Regions from separate parts of the Homo sapiens genome. Here all the other regions are linked to region 1. Evidence: promoter capture Hi-C in human tissues and cell types (Jung and others, 2019). All regions are on one chromosome and are shown on one strand. Each heading gives the region's core, a stretch centred on a gene start or on the middle of the fragment in contact. The rest is flanking DNA. Distances are from core to core; before and after follow the strand shown.

What was found. The method cuts DNA at HindIII sites, captures the fragments that hold promoters and counts their contacts. A contact is called where the count stands out against the background at its distance.
Region 2: a contact is called between a fragment that was not itself captured here and the fragment with the promoter of ZNF704 in region 1, in 2 of the 25 tissues and cell types used here (dorsolateral prefrontal cortex and thymus).
Region 3: a contact is called between a fragment that was not itself captured here and the fragment with the promoter of ZNF704 in region 1, in 1 of the 25 tissues and cell types used here (hippocampus).
Region 4: a contact is called between a fragment that was not itself captured here and the fragment with the promoter of ZNF704 in region 1, in 4 of the 25 tissues and cell types used here (adrenal gland, aorta, dorsolateral prefrontal cortex and 1 more).

The regions. Positions count from the first base shown.
Region 1 is chr8:80,873,407-80,876,106 of GRCh38, reverse strand. ZNF704 (zinc finger protein 704) reads left to right here and starts at 1,326. Exons shown (of 9, transcript NM_001033723.3): 1 at 1,326-1,536. RefSeq lists a silencer at 2,447-2,647. The HindIII fragment of the contact is 4,011 bases long and covers 1-2,700 here.
Region 2 is chr8:81,215,942-81,218,641 of GRCh38, reverse strand. No RefSeq gene overlaps it. Among named protein-coding and RNA genes, the nearest start is that of FABP5, 63 kb to the left of the region's middle. The HindIII fragment of the contact is 4,498 bases long and covers 1-2,700 here.
Region 3 is chr8:80,516,298-80,519,008 of GRCh38, reverse strand. It overlaps ZBTB10 (zinc finger and BTB domain containing 10), which reads right to left. Exons shown (of 6, transcript NM_001105539.3): 4 at 430-606; 5 at 55-227. Among named protein-coding and RNA genes, the nearest start is that of LINC02986, 22 kb to the left of the region's middle. The HindIII fragment of the contact is 4,008 bases long and covers 1-2,711 here.
Region 4 is chr8:80,570,090-80,572,789 of GRCh38, reverse strand. No RefSeq gene overlaps it. Among named protein-coding and RNA genes, the nearest start is that of LINC02986, 32 kb to the right of the region's middle. The HindIII fragment of the contact is 3,112 bases long and covers 1-2,700 here.

The DNA.
Region 1 (2,700 bases), core at 77-2,576:
GAAACTTCCACTTTTGAAGTCACAAAATGCTGTAAGAGCTTTGGGAATGGAAAGGAAGGGGTGGATTCAAAATGCATTTTAGAAAGAACAATGGGTTGGACTTGTGGGCAATTGCCTCTAGGGATAAGGTAGAGAAGGGAGTTAAAATGATACCGCTATTTTGGGCTCAAATGATTATAATGAGAGTTTCATCACCTGAAATAGGTACATCAGGAAGCTAATCTGATTCAGGGAGAACAAAAAGTTCATTTTAGAATCTTTGTCATCATCCCTGTTCAACAGTTGGAAGCCACCATAAGTGAGCATTTAATGAGCCCCATTCAAGTGTCTAACAGAGCATATGATGTTAAATGTCCAACAATAATTAACTGAAGGTGAATACACCTTTTATTCTGGCCCCACGGAGGTGCCTACCAGGGTATTTGATGCGTAAGATCCTCCCCAGCCCTCCTCTACAGGGATGGAATTGGGGGTATGATTTGAATGTAAGAAATACGACTTAAGGCCGGGCACGGTGGCTCACACCTGTAATCCCAGCACTTTGGGAGGCCAAGGCAGGCAAATCATCTGAGGTCAGGAGTTTGAGACCAGCCTGGCCAACATGGTGAAACCCTGTCTCTACGAAAAATACAAAATTAGCATGGCATGGTGGAGCGCGCCTTTAATCCCAGGTACTCAGGAGGCTGAGGCAGGAGAATCGCTTGAACCCAGGTGGCGGAGGTTACAGTGAGCCCAGACCATGACATTGCACTCCAGCCTTGGCAACAAGAGCGAAACTCCATCTGAAAAATAAAGAAATATATATAAATAAAAATTAAAATAAATAAAAGAAGAAATACCACTTACTACATAGCCTAACCCCACGCAATAGCAAATATATTTTCTTTATCACACCTAAAAATCGTCAGAAAATGGCAAAATTAGTCATGTTATGTGCTTGATTTCCAGATTTGGTCTTACTTCATATTAATTTCTTAAGTAACCAACTCAAACGATCTTGAACTCCCACCCATTTGTTTCTTCAAAGTCCTGAACAATGCCAGAAGAGAGTCTACAGATCAGACAGTGCAAACAGAAAGCTTCTTGGAATTCAGCCATTAAAATCAGGCACTCAAGGTAGAATAGCAGGAGTAAAAGCTGAAAGACCTACACACTCAGCACAGAGCCAAGGCAGCTCAATCGCAGGGCCTAGAGTGGTGCGTTCAAAGAGTGTGAGATTGGTAGACAATCGCTCATGAAACAGTGTTTCGAAAATCTAAGCGACTCTGATGATTCATATTAGGAATTCATCCCAAACCTCAGATTGGTACACCTTCCTTGATTTCACACAAGCTCAGGAGTAGCTGCCATGCACATCAGTGTCCATTAAAATGACTTGTAGCAAATCTCTACGTTCAAAGTCTAACTTTGACAGACAACCTTACTTCCAGCGAAGTCTACTCCCCTCCCTCCGGAGGGAAGAATGGGCTGCGGTTAAGCGTTTGCCCTGGTGTCAGGGCCAACTGCTTCGAAGCGCCAGACTTTCGGAGACTGTGGGTAAGAGAAAAAAAAAATCCAGTCCGGGTTTTGTCTGAGCGGGGGGACCGGAGGGTTGTGAGGAATGGCTCGCGAAGAGGGGGGCGGTGGTGGAAAACATACAACACAAACAGCTCGCGCCGAGGCACGGCAGCGGTAGGCCCGGAGCGCGCGGGCGCAGCCGGCCGGGAGAGGCGCGCGCGGGCTCGGCCGCCGGCCGCATGGAGCGCAGCGCGGCCCGCGGCTCCCGGGCGGCGGCGGCGGCGGCGGAGGCGGCAGCGCGCCGCTCGCTCACACCCACCCCCGCCCGCGGCCGCCGCGCCGCCCCGCCGTAGCCGCCGGCCGCCGGCGTCCCCGCCGGCCGGTCCAGCGAAGGCGGCGCCCGCGCCTCTGCAGCCAGTGGCAGCCGCGGGTCCTGGCCGGCGGCTCCTGCAGCCCCTTGCGGCCGCGAGTCCCCGGCCCTGCGGCCACCGGCGGAGGCAGAGGAGGAAGAGGAGGTGACAAACTCTCCGGCCCCGCGCCGCGGCCCGCAACCCCGCGCTCAGGCATGCAGGCGCGGCGTCTAGCCAAGCGCTCCAGCCTGGGCAGCCGCCGGGGGGGCGCCGCGCTGCAGCCTGCCGGGCCGGCGCCCGCGCCCGCCAAGGAAGCCGCCCTACCCGGGCTCCCGCCCCCTGTCCCGGGCCCGGCCCCGGCGCCCGCCCCGGAGAGCTGGAGGCCGCCGCTGCCGCCGCCGCCGCGCAGCGCCGGGACCGGCCCCCCTCGGGCCACCGGGGCCGCCGCCGCCGCCTCGTCGCCGGTGCTGCTGCTTCTAGGGGAGGAAGACGAGGACGAGGAGGGCGGGAGCAGGCGGCGGAGGGGGCTCGGGCGTGTGGAGGAGAAGCCCCGAGGGGGCGCGGAGGAGGAGGATGACGACGAGGAAGAGGAGGACGAGGAGGTGGTCGTCGAGGTGGTGGACGGCGACGAAGACGACGAGGACGGCGAGGAGCGTTTCGTGCCCCTCGGACCCGGCCACGCAGTCCCCAGGGGCCCGGCCCGGGGCGCGTTGAAGGTGCGTGTTGGGCGCGGTGGCGCGCGTGGGACCCGCCAGCCCGGGGAGGGGGACGGGCCCGGGCCCCGGGGCAAGGCGCCTGGCCGAGGACGGTCAGCGGCGCCGGGGAGAGACCCGGCCAGGAGGGGTGTGTCAGG
Region 2 (2,700 bases), core at 110-2,609, 340 kb before region 1:
TCTAGGTGACAGAGTGAAACCGTGTCTCAAAAAAAAAAAAAAAAAAAAAAAAAAAGGCAGGTCCTCATAATGAAGAATATTGAAAATGAAAGCTTCATTCCATGGTCCAAAAAAAAAGTAAAAGTAAAAAGTCCATTGTAGTGCAAATCCACCTGACTAAGGGTGTAAGCCACACATGAGCACACACCAGCATGCACCCAGACATGAGCAGAGTCTGACAGCACCTCCACACCCGTGTTCCCCCAAGTAAGTCGCCCTTTGTGACTATGTCTATAATATCTTTAGGCCCATGCTTTCCACTTGTCACTATCACGCAATGATATATTTCAGAATAAAATCAACACCAGCCATCCTGCCTAAAGTCAATAGCTGTAGTTCAGGACAGTTCTATTAGGTTGGTGCAAAAGTAACAGCAAGGGACAAAGATGAGAGAAGCCAAACAGTTGTATTTGAATCCGGAAGGTACATTTTGAAACCCAATGCATTGCTACAATTCCCTCAGGTATTTCTTCTTTTACAACCAAAGGAGGCAGCTCATCCTTGAGTGGTCCCACAGAACTGTGCACTGAACAATAGTACTTATACAAATAGTAAACTGTGATACAACACTTGTCTATGAACTTGCTATTCAAAACATGGTTCCTCTCTCCAAACAGCTTCAGCATCACCTGAGGGCTCTTTAGAAACAAAGAATCAATCTCTGGCCCACTCCAGGATGACTGAATTGAAATTCCAGTTTTAACAGGATCTCCAGGTGATTTTTAAGCTCATCAAATCTGGGAAGCACTGTTCTATACGGTTCTGGGTCTTCATTGCTACCATCTCATCTCCTATTGATTTCTTAACACAATCTTCATGTGAAACTCAATTGAGTTTTGTTGCTATCTCTTTATTAGTCTCACTAGGAGGAAGAAGTCAGTAGTCACGAAATCCAATTTAATTAAATGGGCCTGTTAATTAGGGCACAAATGCTTCATCTTGAATTAATCCAGTTGATTACTCGGGTGGAGAAAATTTGCTGAGTTTACAAAGGATAATATGATGAGGTGGAGGGACAGAGCCACTAATCCTGATTTTCTTCAAAATCTACTTATACTAAATACATACAAGTTTATTTGTTAATTTCAATAAATAAATTTGAAAAAAGAAAATATCTACTTGTAATAAATATTTTAAAATATTTTACAATAATCATAGCAAAATGAAATTTTATCTTGTTGCTCAAAATTCACACTCAGTTGTTAAAATTATGAGAGCAAAATTATAAACAATTACCGCATGCATATTTATTTATTTGATTGCCAAATCCTACAGCATGCATAGGAAATACCATTTTCAAAAGGAATTAATAGAAACTCGACCAAGTCCATATGCATTTATGCAAGTCAATTTATTAATGTCAAAGATTATCAAAATACATTTGAAATGGTTTTTTTATTGTGACATTTTATAGAGAGCATTATTCAAAAATTATTGACATACTTTAATTGGCAAAGGGTACAACTGAAACTCTTATCCTTGAGAGTTCTTTTATGCTCTAGAAATACAAGCCTAAGGCAATACTACAATTAGTGTAAGTGGACTCTACTCTTTAAAAAATGTGAGACCAATTATTCTCATGACTGACGAAATCCCACATGACCTTAAGTATTCCCACAATATATCAAGGACATTTTTTCTATGGAAAGTGCCAAGAACTTATTCAGGAATGCTTTATGAAAAAGAGAATTTTCCCACAGTGGAACAGAGGAAATGCATGTTGAAAGGCAAGCACTAATATGTAATAGGAAGCATGTGACCTACTTAATTATGTGCCCTTGGGACATGCAATGTGTTTGCAAAGCAATGAAGGCCTTAAAGGTCATATTTGAGGAGCACAAATCAGATGTAAGAAGGAAGACGAAGGAATCCTGGCTGCGTGGCATCTTAATGAGATGAAACATCCTGTTACATCTTCACAGTTTATGGCTATTGACTGCGATCACAAAACCCCAAGAGAAGCAGCAGAAATGCTTATTAAAATAGTGGAAAGCATACTGCATTTACAAATGAAATATGCTGCAATTGAATGATATTAACAAAGAAATGGATTGGGCTTTTTTTCCTGTAGATTATAAAATTTGTAAGTAAAATAAAATTACATTTTTCAAATCTAATGGTTTTCCTATTACAGTCTTCAGGCCTCTTTATAGAAACAGAGGCAAGGATGATAATTCCTTGCCAAATTATATCCTCAAAAGAGCTGTCCGCAAAGTGAAATTCTCAAAAATCTCTCTCGTGTAAATAATTCATAGAGAGTTGCTGAGACCCTATTTTGAAACAGAAGACATCATGCCAAGAGCTCCAGTTGGGACTGGCCCTCTCTGTGCCCTCAGATGGCACTAAGTAATTTGGGCAAAGTAGCTGCCTTCTCACAACTTCAATGCCCGTATCTCTGAAAGGGCATTTCCCAAAATGAGTGTGCGCTTTTAATGAATTACAAATGCACATACAAAAGATGCACTTTATGGAAGCCGTCCCAGCATATTATAAATGGAACAACTATAATGACTGTCAAAGTAAGCCCAAAGCTCATGAAATAATAATACCCTGTACTTAGCATTTTTCTCTGAGGAGCTTAGAGCACTTTAGAGGCTTGAAAATGTTTCTCTTTTTAGTAAAAAAGTCTTTTAAAAGTCTATTCCTGAATGTTGAGCGAGA
Region 3 (2,711 bases), core at 58-2,557, 360 kb after region 1:
CACTGACATAAATATAGTTTATCTCAAAGATCAGCTGTATTTAAAGTTACTTACCAGGGAATGTCTTTTTACATGTTCTCTTCGAGTAAACAGTTTTCCACAAATATCACAGCTAAATGATCTCACTCCTGTGTGAATGAGCAAGTGCCTTTTTAGTGTTCGTCTGTATTTGGCTACATAGCTACAATGAGGGCATTTTAACTTGTTCATGATTAGAGATGATTCACCTATGAGAATTAAAAAAAGAGAAAGTGCTTATTACACATTAAACAGAAAACTTGCTATCAAAACTTCTTATCTCTATCTCTGAGAACAGCAATTATGTGGAGCTACTGCTACTTGGTTTTTAAAAAATGCAGAACATGAAAGCTTTTAATTGTTAACAATTATTTAATTAATTCTGTATTTGTTTAGTTGACTAATACTTGCCATTTTCCCAGGTTTCTTGTTTTGGCCAAGATTCTGGCAATAATCCATACTTGAAATCATTTGAAGCACCTGGTATCAATCCATACTTGAAATCATTTGAAGTACCTGGTATCAATCCATACTTGAAATCATTTGAAGGACCAGGCATCAAACCATACTTGAAATCATGTGAAGTACCTAGTACAAGTAAAAATTCTGAATTAATAATGGTAATAAAGATCTGTCTCTCATCAGAGTCAGAAAACAGAAATTATATTTATATCCTACAGGCATTATGATAGAATTTCATAGTATGAGTTAAATAAAACTGTATTTTAGTCTAAAATTGAGATGTCTTCCTACTTTATTATCACAATTAAACAAAATACCATTCAACTATAGTAGAAGAAATTCAGTTAAAAAAATTAATCATGGGCCAGGCACAGTGGCTCATGCATATAATCCCAGCACTTTGCGAGGCTGAGGCAGAAGGATCACTTGAGCCCAGGAGTTTGCAACCAGCCTGGGCAACATGGAGAAACTCCATCTCCATCTCTACAAAAAAATTTTAAAAATTAGCTGGGCATGGTGGTGTGTGCCTGCAGTCCCAGCTACTGGGGAAGATCATTTGAGCCCGGGAGTTGCAGTGATTCAAGATTGCGCCACTGCACTCCAGCCAGGGCGACACAGTGGGATCATGTCTCAAAAAAAAAAAAAAAAAAAAAAAAAGGTGGCGGGCGGGAGAAAAAAACATGAATATCATTTAATTGTGCAGACGCCACAAGAAATTACCCTTTTAAAGGATGGGTATATTCAAACCAGAACTCCTAATAGTTGCTTTTTCTAACTACTCTATCACTTAAGATTTTATCACCCTAAAGCCCAGCTATCAAATGGGATATTCTCCTTATTACGAATCCAGGACAGGCACATAATTTTAAGATTAATTGGTACAGAAAAATAGACTAAGAATAAAGAATATATATAGGATAATTAAAAATGTAAAGTTCTATTACTAGATCCTTGTTTCAGACATATTAGGGCAAGGTAACTGAATGCTCTCAGGGTTCCCTGAAATTTCTTTCTAACTCCATCCTTAAATAAAATAACGTGCAGAAGATAGAATCAAAATAGAATAATACATGTGCCTAAGGATCTTCAGATTAGCAAGGACAGGAATTATATCCACTGGATTTAATTCCATCTTTAATGTAATTCCTTGGACCAGGAACCTTTTGGCAATAGGAATATATATCCAGAATCTTCCACAACTATTGCCACCCTGATCCAATCAATCATGAGCTCTAGCCCCTGGACTGTCTTCAGTAGCCACCAAAAACTTGTCTCCCTACTTCCACTGTTGCCTTCCTAGAGTCTGTTCTCAGCAGAGAAATCACAGATTCTTTAAAACACTACCTTAAGTCAGGTCACCACTCAGCTTACAAGGCTGCAAAGACTACCCACCCTCACAGTAAAAGCTAGAGACTTTCAATATCCTCCAAAGCTTTACCCGGTGGAGCCCTGGCTTCCAACCACCCTTTCCTTTCAGTCACTCTATTCCAACTATACTGACCTCTGTTCTGTTCCTCGTCCATAATAAGCATGCTCCCAATTCAAAGTGCTTAAGCTTTCCTCTGCCTAAAACACTCCTTGCCAAGATACAGTTCACTCAAGCAGCAATAATACATTTTCCTCCCATGGGCATCACGGTTTTAAAAGTAAAGAATGTTTACCCAAATGGATTTCCTAAGAATCACTTCCCATATATGTTCTCAGACATGCTGTCCCTCTTAAAAATTAAGATAACTTAAGATTCCTTTTTGGTGAAAGTCTTAATACCCAACAAAGTAAAAATGTCTCTAAAATATTTTAAAACTGCACATCATTACTATTACTGTAAACTGTGCTGTACTTGGAATACCGTCACCGGTTTTTGATGTAAAGAAAGCCCCCTGAACCCATAGCTACATAAATTCAACTATAACTCATTATAGCTGCACCTAATTAGTGTTTGGGAGTAAGTTGTAAGAATCCTAAAGTGAAGCATTTCTGTGTGAGGGATAAAGAATGGAACGGAAGTGGTAGCCTGTGGAGGTCAACCTACTGTTAGTTTCACATCTCTAAACAAAGTTTGAGCTTTATGATCCATATTTCTTGTCTAAATCAGTACAAACTCCTGCGCCTATCTTACTTGCCTTGGTTTTTCTATTGTTTAAGACACATGCCCTACAATTACTTGTAGAATAAATGTTATCTAGCAAATGCCAATACATACTTCTGACTTGCTCAAAATACTTGGAAAA
Region 4 (2,700 bases), core at 118-2,617, 300 kb after region 1:
TAGCTGATTTTGAGTTAGGGAGAAGCGGTTTCTCCTTACACCAGGTAAGTAGGCAGTCTCCAAAGACTCCCTGTGACTTTCCACATCACGTTTTAGCTCTTCCTACCTTGACTTCCAGATTCTCTAAAATATACTTATATCCTTGTTCCATGTTAACCGCTACTTATTACCATGACTTTAAAAATAATAATACACCGGGCGTGGTGGCTCACATCTGTAATCCCAGCAATTTGGGAAGCCGAGGCGGGCAGATCACTTGAGGTCAGGAGTTCGAGACCAGCCTGGCCAACATGGTGAAACTCTGCCTCTAATGAAAATACAAAAATTAGCTAGGTGTGGCTGCTTGCGCCTGTAATCGCAGCTACTTGGGAGGCTGAGGTGGGAGAATCGCTTGAACCCAGGAGGCGGAGGTTGCAGTGAGCCAAGATCACAATACTGCACTCCAGCCTGGGCGACAGAGCAAGACTCTGTCTCAAAAATAAATAAATTAATTAATTAAATAAAAAATAAAAATAAAATAAATACAAAAAATTAGTCTATTAGTCTCCTTTTATGATTCAATTAAACATCTGTTTTTCTCCCCCTCATTTATCTTAGAGATCATCTAATTCACTCTATTACAAACCAGAGATGTTAAGTGACTTACCTGGGGTCATACATTTGTGGCAGAACCCTCTGTACAGGGTTTTTTTCAGTTATAAAGTGCTGCCTCCTACTGAGGTTTGTGTCTGGGACCCCAGGACAAAATAAGAAAGGACATAGCAGGAATCTCACCTAACCTATGTCTCAGCTCAGAGGGGAAAACTTCACAGAAGGGATCAGTCTGGCATAAGCATACCATTGAACAGGTGTTTCAAGGGGGCAGGACTTGGATGACCAGATCTTAGAAGAAAGACTTAGTCTAAGTCTCTGTGCATTCTGGAGAGGCCTTGCTCACCAGAAAGCCCAATGTTGGTGTTCAGCTGCTGCCCACCTTAGGGTACAATGAACCCTATTCTGCTGGAAGAGTTGTTCCATCAAAGAAACGGGATCTTTCTCAGAAGTCTCATGCAAATATTAATTCATTCAGACAAAAGCAGATGAGTAGACACTGGGTGACTTTGAACCACTATTCAACCGACTCTGGGCCTCCATTATCAAATAAAATGGTTGGATAAGAACTAGGCAACTTCCATGATGGCTCATAGCTCTAAAATCTCATGATTCCATAATAAGTAAATAGAAATAACAGAAGAAATTCATCAGACAATAAACACAAAACAGACATTAAGTCCTCAGGCTAAATGCAATTTTTAAAATTCAGCCATTTTTTTTTAAAAAACCCAAATAATTAAAAGCTTAAAATTTTTAAGAAAATGATCTTATAACCACTGCATGAAACACTATCAACAATAAATTGTTTTTTAAATTATGAAAATAGGCCGGGCGCAGTGGCTCACGCCTGTAATCCCAGCACTTTGGGAGGCTGAGGCGGGTGGATCACGAGGTCAGGAGATCGAGACCATCCTGGCTAACACGGTGAAACCCCGTCTCTACTAAAAATACAAAAAATTAGCCAGGCATGGTGCACACGCCTGTAGTCCCAGCTACTTGGGAGGCTGAGGCAGGAGAATCGCTTGAACCCGGGAGGCAGAGGTTGCAGTGAGCCAAGATCGCGCCACTGCACTCCAGTCTGGACGACAGAGCGAGACTCCATCTCAAAAAAAAAAAAAAAAAAAAAGAAAGAAAAGAAAACTCTACATATTAAATTTTATGACACAGCCAAGTGATTCCCTTCTGCCTCCTATGACACTCTTAAACATAGATTACCTCATGGTAACAATACTGTTCTGGAGCAGAAAGATACCCATCTTACATAGGAAGACATTGAAATCCAAAGAAATGGATCTCAGGTGAAATACCATGCTCATGAGACCATAACCTAAAGTTTCAAGCAGTAGGCAAAACTGGAATTTTTTGAAATCAAGGGAAGCTTTATGTTATCCAATAATACTTTCATTTTGATTTTTTAAAGGCTAATGATAAAAAATTAAAAATAAAAACACAAAAGTACAAAAAAAGCTAATGATGAAACTGCACATTTAGTAGTTAAATACTAAAACAATAAAACAGGGCCGGGGGCGGTGACTCATGCCTGTAATCCCAGCACTTTGGGAGGCCTAGGCAGGCAGATCATTTGAGGTCAGGAGTTCGAGACCAGCCTGACCAACATGATGAAACCCCATCTCTACTAAAAATACAAAAATTAGCCAGGCATGGTGGCACATGCCTGTAGTCCCAGCTACTTGGGAGGCTGAGGCAGGAGAATGGCTTGAACCAGGGAGGTGGAGGTTGCAGTGAGCTACGATCCCACCACTGCACTCCAGCCTGGGCGACAAGAGTGAAATTCCATCTCAAAAAAAAAAAGACAATAAAACAAATTAAAGATGATATTGAATTCTTTAATTATGCAGTTTAAGCTTACATATTTGAAAATATGAGTAAACTTATTTCCCTCAAAAATGCCAAAAATTGCTATCAAATAGACTCAGCTATTTTTAGGAACTTTGGAAGTATAAAAGTTGAAAATTTTTCTTCATGTTTGCCAATTTGAAAAACATCCTATTGAAGAATGTGTGCATGTGTTTGTGTGTGTGTGCGTGTGTGTGTTGAACTGTTCCTTGGTGTGTGACTGTGCCTGTATAACTATTCTGATGGGGC